Linked DNA regions of Homo sapiens: region 2 is linked to region 1. The links are contacts of gene promoters, found by promoter capture Hi-C in blood cells and fetal thymus (Javierre and others, 2016). All regions are on one chromosome and are shown on one strand. Each heading gives the region's core, a stretch centred on a gene start or on the middle of the fragment in contact. The rest is flanking DNA. Distances are from core to core; before and after follow the strand shown. Region 1 holds the start of PNLDC1 (PARN like ribonuclease domain containing exonuclease 1). Region 2 overlaps IGF2R (insulin like growth factor 2 receptor).

What was found. The method cuts DNA at HindIII sites, captures the fragments that hold promoters and counts their contacts. A CHiCAGO score of 5 or more calls a contact.
Region 2: a contact is called between a fragment that was not itself captured here and the fragment with the promoter of PNLDC1 in region 1, in 1 of 17 cell types (neutrophils). The highest score is 5.3, in neutrophils.

The regions. Positions count from the first base shown.
Region 1 is chr6:159,798,925-159,805,594 of GRCh38, reverse strand. It overlaps PNLDC1 (PARN like ribonuclease domain containing exonuclease 1), which reads right to left and starts at 5,319. Exons shown (of 19, transcript NM_001271862.2): 1 at 5,212-5,319; 2 at 4,766-4,823; 3 at 4,409-4,482; 4 at 2,285-2,324; 5 at 1,507-1,630; 6 at 958-1,046. The coding sequence starts at 5,287. The HindIII fragment of the contact is 10,328 bases long and covers 1-6,670 here.
Region 2 is chr6:160,008,027-160,014,870 of GRCh38, reverse strand. IGF2R (insulin like growth factor 2 receptor) reads right to left here. Exons shown (of 48, transcript NM_000876.4): 3 at 5,737-5,861; 4 at 4,086-4,184. Among named protein-coding and RNA genes, the nearest start is that of AIRN, 3.8 kb to the right of the region's middle. The HindIII fragment of the contact is 1,709 bases long and covers 2,665-4,373 here.

The DNA.
Region 1 (6,670 bases), core at 4,070-6,569:
CTCTTGCATCAGAAACAGAACCTAACATCATTTTGAGATAAGGAAAGGCCTTTCTCCAACTCTTGAAAATGAAAGAAGGTTAAAAATTCAACTTGTTTTTCCCTTACAAAAAGCTACATTTTTATATGAAAACCAGCAGGAAAAATACAAAGAGACAAAAATTCCTCCAACATAACAGAATTATCTGGAAGAGATCATCACTCATCGCATTTCAGATGTTCATTTAATCTCCCCCTTCCTGATAAAGGCAAAGAGCTTCCATACCTTGTTCAAACCCACACCTAGCTGATAGCACTTGGCTCCAGGTGAGGGTACCAGCCCCAAGGCCCCCGGTCCGTCTACCCACAATGCTGTTGCTCTCGCTGTGGTCACTCCTGACCCCAGCTCTACAGGAATACGAGGTTTTGGAGACTGGGGCTGGCACAGACAGCCAAAGTAAAAAGGCAGAGGTCCCGGCCTAGGGGAGCAGGGTCAGGCACAGCAGGGCAGACACAGCCTAACCAAGGCACACATCTGAAGTCAGTGCCCAGTATGATTGGCACAGTCAAGGTTGCCCGAGAGATATCCTTGAAAAATCCCTCAGAAGATCACATGGGGGATCAACATAACATCTCACAGCAAGTCCAACAGAACGATTTCTTCCCCTCTAGCACTGGAATGGAATTCTTGTTTCTTTGAGTTCCAAATTAGGAGTCAGTTTCTTTTTCTTTTTAAACACTGAAACTCACACTCAACGCAGTGAGAGGTTCATTAGGGAGTGGAACATGATGGAGACAGGTGAAAGCCATTCTCAGTTGGGGCACAGGGAGAGCAGCGCCAGCTGCACAGGCAGCTGAAGCCATCCCCGCCAAGCATGGATGGAGGTCACCACACTCCTGGAAACGGCACGCCCGCCCACGGGAAATGCAGACAACAGCAACAAGGAAACAAAAAGGCACCTGGAGAAACAGGCCATACCTGCGAACTCTCCAGTTCCCAGTCAGGATATCGTGTCTAATTTTCTTCTCCTGTTCTTCATTCATATATGGGATTCCGTTTTTGAGAAACTTAAGACAGAAACAGAACAACAAACAGAACAAGGAGACAAGTCAGAGGGATCCTCTGTGCCTGATTTCACGAGGACAGGTAGAAAGGGGAAAGGAGACGGGCTGTATAAGCCAGTTCGTCTAGATCACTTGTAAGACATTCCCAGGCCGGGTGCGGTGGCTCATGCCTATAACCCCAGCACTTTGGGAGGCCGAGGCAGGTGGATTGCCTGAGGCTAGGAGTTCAAGACCAGCCTGACCAACATGGTGAAACCCCGTCTCTACTAAAAATACAAAAAGAATTAGCTGGGCATGGTGGCGGGTGCCTGTAATCCCAGCTACTTGGGAGGCTGAAGCAGGAAAATCACTTGAACCCGGGAGGCGAAGATTGCACCACTGCACTCCAGCCTGGGCAACAGAGCGAGACTCCATCTCAGAAACAAACAAAAGACATTCCCGTTCCCCTCCTCCAATGCCATACCTTGTTATAGTTGAAGCCATACTGATTCAAAAACTGAACACTGGAAGCCTGGAAGGAGAATTCTGAGTCCAAAATCCCAAACGTTGTAGGGAAGAGATAGAAGTTACAAGAATGGGCTATATACCTATAATAAAACAAACATACAGAGAAAAAGCCACAACCATTTAAAAAACTCTGGCTCCCAGGGCTGGCTTCAGGGTGGGCTCTTTCTTTTAGGCAAGAAGAATCTGAGTGTGCCCGAGTGTCTGCTGTGTTTCAGGAGCTATGATTGGCACTGGGGGTGCTAAATGAAAAAGGCAGAGAGCCTGCCTTCAGGGCCAGCGTATACCACAGAGACAGCCCCTCCACAAGCTGCCCAGGGATGCCAGGTTAGGGCGTGCAGGCTGGCACCCTCAACTGCTCATGGGGGGTGGGGAGGCATCCTGATAGTTGGGGCATCCTTTCTGCCTACTGTGTCAGGTAGTTTAAACATCACTTTCATTACACCACACTGTGTCAGGCGCTTTTATTAATATAGGTGCACACTGGAGACAATGGAAATGGGGAAAGGAGCACTTAAGGTACAGAGCAAGGCTGGCGGGAAAGGTACTGCTTCCAGAGAGACATCAAAGACAAGCTGGAATCCGCAGAGGGCAGAGTGAGTGGAGGAACAGACACAGGAGAGAATACGGAAGATCCAGGGCAAAAGTGATCGGGGCACCTGAGGCAGAATTTGAAGGTGGCAGCTGTGGAACATAGGTGGGAAGCACCTATGTTTGCAGAAGCTCTTGATACATACTTGTTTGCCTCTCCTTCAATAGCGGAAAACACAGACAATCCTGGAAGAATGACCGTAGAGGGAATGAATGCCAAGGAAAAGCAACCTGAATTTCACTACAAAGACAAAAACAACTCAAACAGTACTTTGCGCCCACAGATACTATGTGGGCTGTACAACAGGATAACATCTTTAATGACAAAAAAGAAAAGACAGACTGGAAGCATGAGAAATGTCAAATTGTAATTCACACTGAATTTGCTAAAATCTAATTGTGGCCTGTTCTTCAAATACAGAAGTAAATATTAAAATGACATTCTCATAGTTTTAAAACTATCCACAGAAAATACCAAAAACCATTAAGATTTATATATTTAACTCATTTAAAATGTCTATTCCTCCCCCCTCAAAGAAAACCATATGCAAAGTTAAAAAAAAAAAAGACTTCAGGCCAGGTGCGGTGGCTTATGCCTGTAATCCCAACACTTTGGGAGACCTAGGCAGGTGGATCACTTGAGGTCAGGAATTCGAGACCAGCCTGACCAACATGGTGAAACCCTGTCTCTACTAAAAATACAAAAATTAGCTAGGTGTGGTGGCGCGCACCTGTAATCCCAGCTACTCAGGAGGCTGAGGCAGGAGAATTGCTTGGGCCTGGGAGGCAAGGGTGTTGCAGGGAGCCAAGATCGTGCCCCTGCACTCCAGCCTGGGCAACAGAGCAAGACTCTGTCCCCCTTCCCCCCAAACAAATTTGGGTACAACAATGGAAACATAACTACAACTGTTTCCTATACTTCTCAAAGAGGTCTTATAATTAAAAACAAACAAACGAACAAAAAAAAAACCATAACAGAAAAGTAGCAAAGGATCAGGATAGAGAGGAAAACACACACACGTTCAGCATCATTCATAGTAAAAGCAGGGGCTGGGCGTGGCAGCACTCCCAGCTACTTCAGAAGCTGAGACTGGAGGATCTCCAGAGCCCAAAAGTTTGAGCCCAGCCTGGGCAACACAGCAAAAACCCAATGGTGCGGGAGAGGGCACAGACAAACCCAGAAAAGTAAAATCTGGCCCAGGGTCTGTTTCTGTAAATACAATAACATTTTACTGGAATGGAGCCATGCTCATTTGTTCATGTATTCTCTACAGCTAATTTCACATTACAAAAGCAGGATTGAGTAGCTGTAAAAGAAACAGCATTACGCAACCGTTAACAGCTCTGTCTTGACCAGCCTGGCCAACATGGTGAAACCCCATCGCTACTAAAAATACAAAAATTAGCCAGGCCTGGTGGCAATTGCCTGTAATCCCAGCTGCTCTGGAGGCTGAGGCAGGAGAATCACCCGAACCTGGGTGGTGGAGGTTGCGGTGAGCCCACATCGCGCTACTGCACTCCAGCCTGGGCAACAGAGCGAGACTCCATCTCAGAAAATAAACTAATAACTAAATCAACAAATAGATCTGTATGAACCGATACAGAAAGATCTCCAAATCCCATCAAGGAAAAAAAAAAAGTTTCTGAAACTGAGATGACCTTAAAAAAAATTATTTTTGTGTGTAAATTTTCTTAAGAAAAAAAAATCACAGGCCAGGTGTGGTTGCTCACGCTTATAATTCCATCACTTTGAGAGGCAGAGGCAGAAAGATTGCTCGAGCCCAGGAAGTCAAGAACAGCCTGGCCAACATGACGAAAACCCATCTGAACAAAAAATTTAAAAATTAGCTAGGTGTGGTGGTGAGCCTGTAGTCCCAGTTTACTCAGGAGGCTGACGTGCTAGTATCACTTGAGCCCAGGAAGTCTAGGCTGCAGTGAGCTAAGACTATGCTACTGCACTCCAGTCTTGGTGACAGAGCAAGACCCTGTCTCAAAAAATAAAATAAAAATCGCACACACACAGTTTTACTTGAAAGAGTAACAGTGAGTGTTCCTTAATACTGACTTATTTAAGCACGGAAACAATGCTGCTAAATTTGGTTTGCTCCGAAGTGTTGATTTCCATATGTATACAATGGCCCAACACAAAACAAGCATACAAAACGATACTCAATATCCTTGAAAAATCTCAGAGCTGTTTTTACAGTAGGAAATCCAAGGACAATAAAAATACCTTCTTGAAAAACTCTAACAGCTGATATTAAACTCACCAATCTGACAGACTGTAAATTGCTGAACACTCTGACGGGTCTTTAGATACCACTCCGATGGCAAATCAAAAAGACTGTGAACAAACAGGCATCTCATTCCACGAGCAATGACATCCCATCCCGGCACTATGGCCTCCGCGGCAGGACCACCACTCGCAACCGGGGAGGATTTTTTCCTTGTTACAACAACTAGGGAGCACTACCATCATTTAGTGGACAGAAAAAAGCAAGGTCCTCCAACACGTAGGAGCAAGCCACACAAAACGTCCTGCCCCCCAAATGCCAACAGGCTGCTGGCCAGAAACAGTGCTGGTCTGGCCAGGCTCTTATACAGAGGGGACACAGCTTTAGTTTTACCTGATCTGCTGGGGCCCAGACAGGTTAGAACGAAGGCCCGTGAACTCTATGTCCAGACCTGCCAGGAAGGCAAAAAATAGCAGTCCTCGGGTGCAGAACATCGCCAGCACTCCTCACACTGTAGATCTGCAGGCGGCCAAGGCACCCGCGCTCACCTCTGCGCTCAAGAAGCCAAGTGAGGTCAGGAAGGGAAAATGGAGGAACCAAGGCAAGGAGCAGCCAGGCACCTGGGCGCACGGGGCTCTGGCCAACAAGGGACGTGGGGCTCGGAGTGTACTTGCTGCTCAAAGTCCCACCGCCCCGGGGCTGGAGAAGGAAGCCCCCCTGTCCTTCCCGAGGCCCTCTCTGAGGCCCTGTGGCCTGGCAACCGTCCCGCCACCCCCTCCTCAAGCTCGCCCGGGGCAAGGGGCTCTGTCCGGCACAGCCGCGAATCCCAGGCTCTTCACCCACGAAGTCGGCCTCCTGGACGAGCTCCTGCAGCAGAGGGAGGCTCTCCTCGAACTCGTCGGCGCCCACGTCCATGGCCGTGCAGCTCCGCGGAGTCGCCCAGCGCTATCACGTGCTGCCCACGTGCTGCCCACGCGCTTCCGTCGCGCCGCCGGGTCTTAAAGGGCGCACACATGGAAACCAGGCAGCTGCCTCCGCCCCACGTGCCCAGCTTCCCCGTGTGCTGCTGGCGTCGCCCACACCTGCCTGCGGGTGTTTTAATTGTACGATTTGCTACAGAGGTTTGATTGCAATTGCAATCAAAGCCTGTTTACCTGGCTCCTCAGCAATTTCTTTGCAGCCCTTAACGTGAGAATGTCATTTACATGGACTTAGAATGTTAAGAGGCGTGGCAGGAGACGAAGACAGAGTCCAGAAAGGGTGAAATCAGAAAAGCGGAGCAGGAACAACACCGGACGCAACTGCAATAAGCAGATCCTTTGCTGCGGCTCACGGTCTTCTAAATCACCTCTTCCCAACTTCTCCATCACTGCCAGTATGTCTGTCCCCATTCCCTCTCCCACGCCCCTGGACATCTTTTTCCTCATTCTGCTGTCCACCTTACCACTGTCTTCACACCTGCAATCAAACTTTGCAAAGCCTCAAGAACTGCCCATTAAATTGAAGGAATCCTTGGTCCCCAGGGATTATCTCGTGCACTCACTCCTTGCGGAAATCCCTACCTACATCATCACATACATGTGAGCTTAATTTTTACTTTTGTTACTGTTTCCAGTGCAACTAGTCCATGGTCTTCCTTACAGTGTCCTCCCTTGAATTCTAGGCTTCTACTTGAACAGCGTTTTGGAACTATGGTCCTCAAAGTGAGGTGCTCAAATCAATCTTTAAGGTTAGCGGAGAAAACATTACCGTTATACTTTATTTTTTCCTTTTGAGACAGTCTCACTCTGTCACCCAGGCTGGAGTGCAGTGGTGCCATCTCGGCTCTCTGCAATCTCCACCTCCTGAGTTCAAGCGATTCTCCCGCCTCAGCCTCTGAACAGCTGGGATTACAGGCATGCACCACCACGCCCAACTCATTTTTGTTTTTAGTAGAGATAGGGTTAAACCGTATTGGCCAGGCTGGTCTCGAATTCCTGGCCTCAAGTGATCCACCTGCTTCAGCCTCCTAAAGTGGTGGGATTAGAGGTGTGAGGCACTGCATCCGATCTTCAATTATACTTTTAAATGCCTCTCCGGGACATTAATTAAGCAAAAGGGGACTATTAAGCCATTTGATTCTGAAGACCTCTCAGAACAAATCATACTTCATACAGATGTGTTCCATTTAAAATAACACATTGAATACTCAAATTGGCAGAAGTAACATATTTCACTTCTAAACAAACATTTAATTGGGGTATACATTAAAAAAACTGGAAAACAATGCTCTAGAAGCCACCTTAACTGCCTACAGGT
Region 2 (6,844 bases), core at 2,270-4,769, 210 kb before region 1:
AAGCCTACCACCAGATTCATGCAGAAAGGCAACTAAAAGAAAATTATTGCCACAGACTATAATTGGGTTACAGTAAAAAGCCACAAGTGCCCATTATCCTGCAAATCTAAAGCTTGTCATCCCACAGCAAGATCATATGAAAACATTAACCCAAGAGGGGAGTGAGTCAGTGGACTGGGTAGGATGCAAGACAAGATGCAATTCTCTAACCAGCAAAATAAAAGCCTATGATGGAAAAGGGAGCAAGATGGCATATGGCAAGAAGGGAAAATGAAAGAACTCTTCATTCTGAAAACAGCTGCATTTCACCAAGACACTTAGAGGATTCCACATAGGCAAGATCTGCAAGCACCCTGCTCGGGGCAGGTAGCAACTACTGGCTGTCTCCCTACTCCAGGAGGGAAGAGAAGACATGCCTCACACAGCACTCCACAGAACTGGAGTGTGCATTGGTAAACAGTCAAGGCTACTGGGGAACACCCTCCCACTTCCTGCTACAGCAAACACAGCAATGGAGACATTCATAAGACCACGAATTTAGCAGCCTGGGGAGCGAGGTTGTTTGCCAGCTGCAACACACCACGCATTGAGTTAATGCTGTTTTATATATAATAATCTTACTTTTATAACCCTGGTAAGACTGCTAGCAGGCCAGTTCTGAATTTTGCCTGTTCCCAAGGGCACTACAGTAGGAGGTATATTTACACAATGCTTTAAAGAAATAATTACCTTAAAGCCTCTACCAGAATCCACTGAACAAAGTATAACAATAGTTTTAAAGGGCTGTTTGTAACTACCATGATTTTTGCCCATCAAAATCATTCTAAATGTGACAGAGCAAAATGAATAAATAAATGAGACATTAGTAAGATGTAGAAAGCAAGACTACAATGACACTAAACCAAATTGAGATTTTTTTTCTTTAGGGAATGATGAGGTTTTTATAAGTACATAAACCTTCAATATGTTTTAAACTTATCATACCAAGCCTGTAAGGTGTAATCAAATCAAACTGAAAGCAGAAAAAAGGGCATACGCTTTATTAAGATTTGCTAACAGTGACAGCACTACATTTTTAGCAGTCATTATGCTTTTCAGTTCTTTCCATTTAATCTATCCATAAGACAAAAAAAAATGAGTTAATGAATATGGATATGTCCTTCACACCATTAGTCTATAGGCTCCCTGAAAGCATTCCAAAATTTAACAAAATTCCTACTGCTTAGCTCACAATAGGCTCTCAATAAATGAAAACTCAATGAATAAAGCCCCAGCTGCCAATTACACCTGAAGAGGTAAGAGAGTACAAAGTACAAATGTTTCTCATGCATCTTCAATCTGCTTCTAAGAGAAATTAAATGTCATTGTTTTGAGAAAAACACAGACTATACCTCCCCATTCCCACCCCAAAAACTATTTAGAACACAGATCAGCACCTTTTTTTTTTTTTTTTTTTTTTTACAAAGAACCATGTGGTATCTACATTTTGGGTTTTGCAGGTCACATAGGTCTCTGTGGCATATTCCTCTTTGTTTTGTAACAATCCTGTAAAAATGTGAAAACCATTCTTAGTCCTGGGGTTGTACAAAAACAGGCCAGGGCAGGCTTTGAACCATGGGCTGTAGTTGGTGATTTCTGACCCATTGAAAACAAGTTGCTATTCATTTTATTTTGGAAAGCAATTTTTTCCTAGGTGGTAGAAGACACAACTGTCAATTCAGCAACGTGACATAAGAGGTACACTCAGATAAAACAAAAACAAAACAAAACAAAAAGGGTATCATGATCAGGTTGGAAAATCAGAGCCCAGGAGAGTATCTGTGGGACTGAGAGGTCTGGGGTCTAACAGGAGAGCAGAGGGCACCACTGTCACCGCAGCCTCCACCTCCCACAGGAAGCAACTCAGATCCGGCCAACTGGACACTTGAGGATGACTGTGTGTGGGGCCAGGCGCAGGGGCTCACTCCTGTAATCCCAGCACTTTGGGAGGCCGAGGCAGGCGGATCACCTGAGGTCAGGAGTTCAAGGCCAGCCTGGCCAACATAGAGAAACCCCGTCTCTACAAAACAAACAAATAAACAAACAAACAAACAAAAAAAAAAAAAAATATATATATATATATATAAATTAGCCGGGCATGGTGGCTCATGCCTGTAATCCCAGGATGACTGTGTGTCCCCACTCAAATCTTGTGTCAAATTGTAATCCTCAACATTGGAGGCGGGGCCTGGGGAGGTGACTGGATCATGAGGGCAGATTCCATCACCCCCTTCTTGCTATTATCATGATAGTGAGTGAGTTCTTGTGAGATCTGGTCATTTCAAAGTGGGCGGCACCTCCCCCTCCCACTCTCTTCCTCAGGCTCTGGCCACGTGAGGTGCTCGATACTCTGTTGCCTTCTGCCATGACTGTAAGTTTCCTGAGGCTTCTCCAGATGCAGATGCTGCCATTCTTCCTTTACAACCTGCGGAACTGTGAGCTAATTATACCTCTTTTCTTTATAAATTACCCAGTCTCAGGTGTTTCTTTATAGCACTGCGAGAATGAACACACTGTGCTCCCACCCTCACCCCCAAACCCCAAACAGATGTCTGCTTTGAGATGCTTTTCCCACCGCTAACAGTATGTCATCTAACAGCTTCACCTAAGTTTTTAAATGAAGCTTACATTTGACACTGTCTCCTAAATATCAGCCTTAATTCTTTCCACTTTAAACTTTTTTTTTTTCATTGAATGCTCCTTATGGCTTTCCTGGGCAGTATTTTACCACTTCCACTTCCATATGACACTGTCTTTCCCTTCATAGATGACCATATCTGAAAATATCAGTGATTTATTGTTCATAATTTAATCTGAATTAATGTTTTTAAATAAACATTTCTTTTTGTCTTATTAAACTGCATGGTATTAGGCCACTAGTAAAAATTACTGATTATGACCATTCATTAGTTCCTGAATCCTTACAACCTTTGAAAGTTCTTAAAAACAGAAAGTAGGAGAGAAAAGTGAGATAATCAATTAATTAAGATTGTTATCAAGGTGAGAACAGGAAATTCCCTTTAGGATCTGGGGTGGTGGGCATGGAGAAGCGGCAGAAGGAACACAGTCTGCTCTTCCCCAGGACCAGGGAGAATCAAGTAGCAGTGCAACATGAGGGAATCCAGGCTGGGGAAGGGGACATTCCATTAGTCAACAAGAATGACCTGCCCAAGAGATCCATTAAACACCACCACAACCACAGTTAATAACAATGTAATTTATTCTTGCGTATCACTAAGAGAGTAGATTTTAAGAGTCCTCACAAAAAAAAAAAAAAAAACGAAATATGTGAGGTAACACATATGTAATTAGCTCAATGTAGCCATTCCTCAATGTATACATATTTCAAAATATCATGTTGCACATAATACATATAGGTCAGTGTGTATGTATATAGATATATATACATACATGCACCCAAGAAGAATGTCTTGACCAAGGAATGCTGGGTTCAAATAATAAGGGGTGGACGTAATAGTAACAGTAACCTAGTAATCTAGTCTCTGAGGTGAGCTGGAAAAGAATTTAAGGGATACCTGACCTGGACTCACATTGCAGCCAGAAGTCATCCCAAGGCTGAGGAGAGGGACAGAGAGATTTAACAATGCAAACAGGTAAAGGAGACTTATCAAAAGCGGGGTACAACACAGGTGGAAAGCCAGGTGCAAAGGAAGATGAAGCAGGCAGCGTCAGAAACAGATGGCTCCTGCAGGTAGAGTGAATACTCTAAGCCCAAGCCCAAACACGTCACTTAGTTTACTGAGTTGCACAGCACCAGAAACCAAGAACTAACTTGCCCTATATGGATGAGCCATTCTATTTCCAATCTGGACCAAAAATCACATCCTGTGATATTTTAAATGCCCTGTCCTAAAAATAAGAACCACTCAGAAAAGTTTTAAAAATTAAATCACATGGTATCTCTGCTCAAATGCAATTTGGAAGCTAAAAAAGATTTTCACCCGGAAAGGTTAGAATCAGTATTTGAAAGATAAAGTTCCCCAGAGTATACTTCATAAGCATGTAATTTGAAGTTCCCATGTTACCTCCTTATTTGCTTTAAATATGTCTTTCTTGCAGGCTGCAGTGGTCCTCCACTCAAAGTAGTGCACACATTCTGTTGCAGTTACAAATTCAGGAGTTCCCTATTAAAAAAAAATAGTAATTATAATGTTACCATACCACACATTGTAAAGATTCTTCTTTAAAATGAGAATGCAGTAAAGGCTACTAAAATAAAGAAAGCAGCAGCAAGAAGGGCAGGGGATGCAACCGCTTTAGTTAAACGGGGTCATCAAGAGGTTCCCAAATCTGCAAATTCTGAGACCAAAGCTTCATAAAATCATGTTGGGATTTTGTGTAACTAATCCAAAGGAATTCTACCGCCCCAGCTGTGCAAGTACATTGAGTGAGTTCATGGGAAGAAATCCTCAGTCATTCTCCTCTCAAACTCCAAATGTTCTCTTAAGCAAATGCCAGCAAACGAAAGCCAGAAAACGTGACCTCATGCTTCCCGTGAAAAGGCTCCCATGAGGAGCCCATCTGCATCTGACCAAGTTAGTACACCCACCAGACGCCAACCCTCCAAGGCAGCCCCTCCTGTTAACCGCAACCAGAGTGGACTACAAACAGGTCAACCCCAGCATCGCAGGATGACACAAGCACAGCAGGAACTGGCCTCTTCACTCCCACGTGCAAGTCTAGGGAGTTATCCTTCACAGTTCTATTTCTGGTATGGTGAACACAGAATTCATAAAGGAAATTAGCTGAAGTTAAAACAGGAGCTATATATTTTATTCTGTAATATAAATCTCATTTAATGCTGCTGCGAACAGATTCTTTTTTGGGTCTCAATATGCACAACGATGCAATTTATATGCGGATCCAAAATTAACAATATTAGTTTTATTTTCAAAGTTCTTCAGATAAGACACTGTGGACCTGAAGATGCAATAGTCACAGTCCCAAATTCTAAAATGATATTTTAAAGCAATTTAGTAGCCACAGAGTTTCACTCAACCTGACTTTCCTAAAGATTGGGTTCTTACTGGGATTCAAGAACATTCATAGAATTTGTATACCAATTCCTTCTCCCAAGAGCTAAAACAATTATTTACTGCAAGTTCCTTTCCAAAAACTAAAGATTAAAATCAACAAATTACATACAATATGCCCATAATAAGAACAATCATAATAATTTACACAATTATGTCCCCTTTAAACACCAGGTAATATCCAAAAAACTTGAGAACCCCATACCCACGGGCCAAGGCTTCTCCTAAATAGATGTGGGTATCTCTAATTTAATATAAATGAGGAAAGAAAAATATTTTTTAAAAAACTAAATATGCTGCCCTAAAACCTATCAAAATGAAATGCTAGAAGAAGAGGTTTTAGAGAAAAAAAAAGTATGCCTATAACTTAAACATTAAACAGTGCACTGATTTTTAACACAGTAATCACTTTGAATTGTAGTTTTACAAAAGACATGGTCTATGTTTTACTTAAAAGTTGTAACAAGTTTAGAATTTGTTTACTTATTGGTTCTTGATGATGATGGTCATTTGGTAGGGTTTTTCTTATTTGTGTTTCTAAGTTTGCTCACTGATTCTTCCTGGAATACCTCTACAGCCAGAACACCAAGGGGCAGACCTTTTTTTTTTTAAAGAAATACATCAAGTGCCTGTGTGGACTCACCAGGGTTTTCCCACACAGGAAGGCAATGCTGCTCTGGACTCTGTGATTTGTGCCTTGCTGGTCACAGCTCACTGTTGTGTTGAATTCCAGGAGAGATCTGGTTGCACTTCTCAAAACAGAGTCACCTATTTGGAGAGAAAAGAGAGTGAACAGGCTATAAAACATACATAACCAAACAGCTATTTCCAAGGAAAAGCAAATTAAAAGTAGCATTATAATGTATCTGATAGCTTATAAATTTATAAAACTGTCCTTTCCCAGAATTTTCCATCTCAGAGTGGCATCCCCATTACATTACATTAAGTGCCATCTTTACCTTGTCTGCTGCATTCTATACATCAGAAAGGTCCACAGCTATACGCCCATCTCAAATCTGTCCACATTTCTCCACCTCTACTCCCGCTAAAACCACTACCTGCGCTCCAGCAATGGCCACCTAACTGCTCCCCCTGCCTCCACACTAGTCTCATCCCTCGCCAGCCCCACTTCCTCATCCATCTTGCACCAGTGTGATCTTCAAAAATACAAATCAGGATATATAACTCAGCCACTGAAATGTTTCAATACTTCCCATCACATATGCTACAAAATCAACATTCTCTAGAAAGGCCCACAAGTAGAATGACCACATCTCTGCTTGTCCAGGACATTACTGTAACAGTCCAGAATAAAAAGTCTATGTAAAAATCAACATGATGGGGGTTGGCATAGGAATAAACTGATCAAAAGACTAGAATAGAGACCAATCGACTAGAAGAGAGAGCACAGAGACACAAATGTGAATTAAACTTTGATTATGACAGAAGTAATAGGTCAGGGAAAAGAGGAGGCTGTTCAATAAACAGAACTGGAAATAAAAACGGAACTGGAAACAAAATAGTTTTCCATATGGAAAAAGACAAAATTGGATCCCTACCCAGTACTGGGTACAAAAATCAACTCTAAACACAAGCTTGTCCAACCCGTGGCCCATGGGCCACATACAGCCCAGAATGGCTTTGAATGCAGCCCAACACAAACTTGTAAACTTTCTTAAAACATTATGAGATCTTTTTTGTGATTTTTTTTAGATCATTAAGTATCATGAGTATTAGTGTATTTTAGGTGG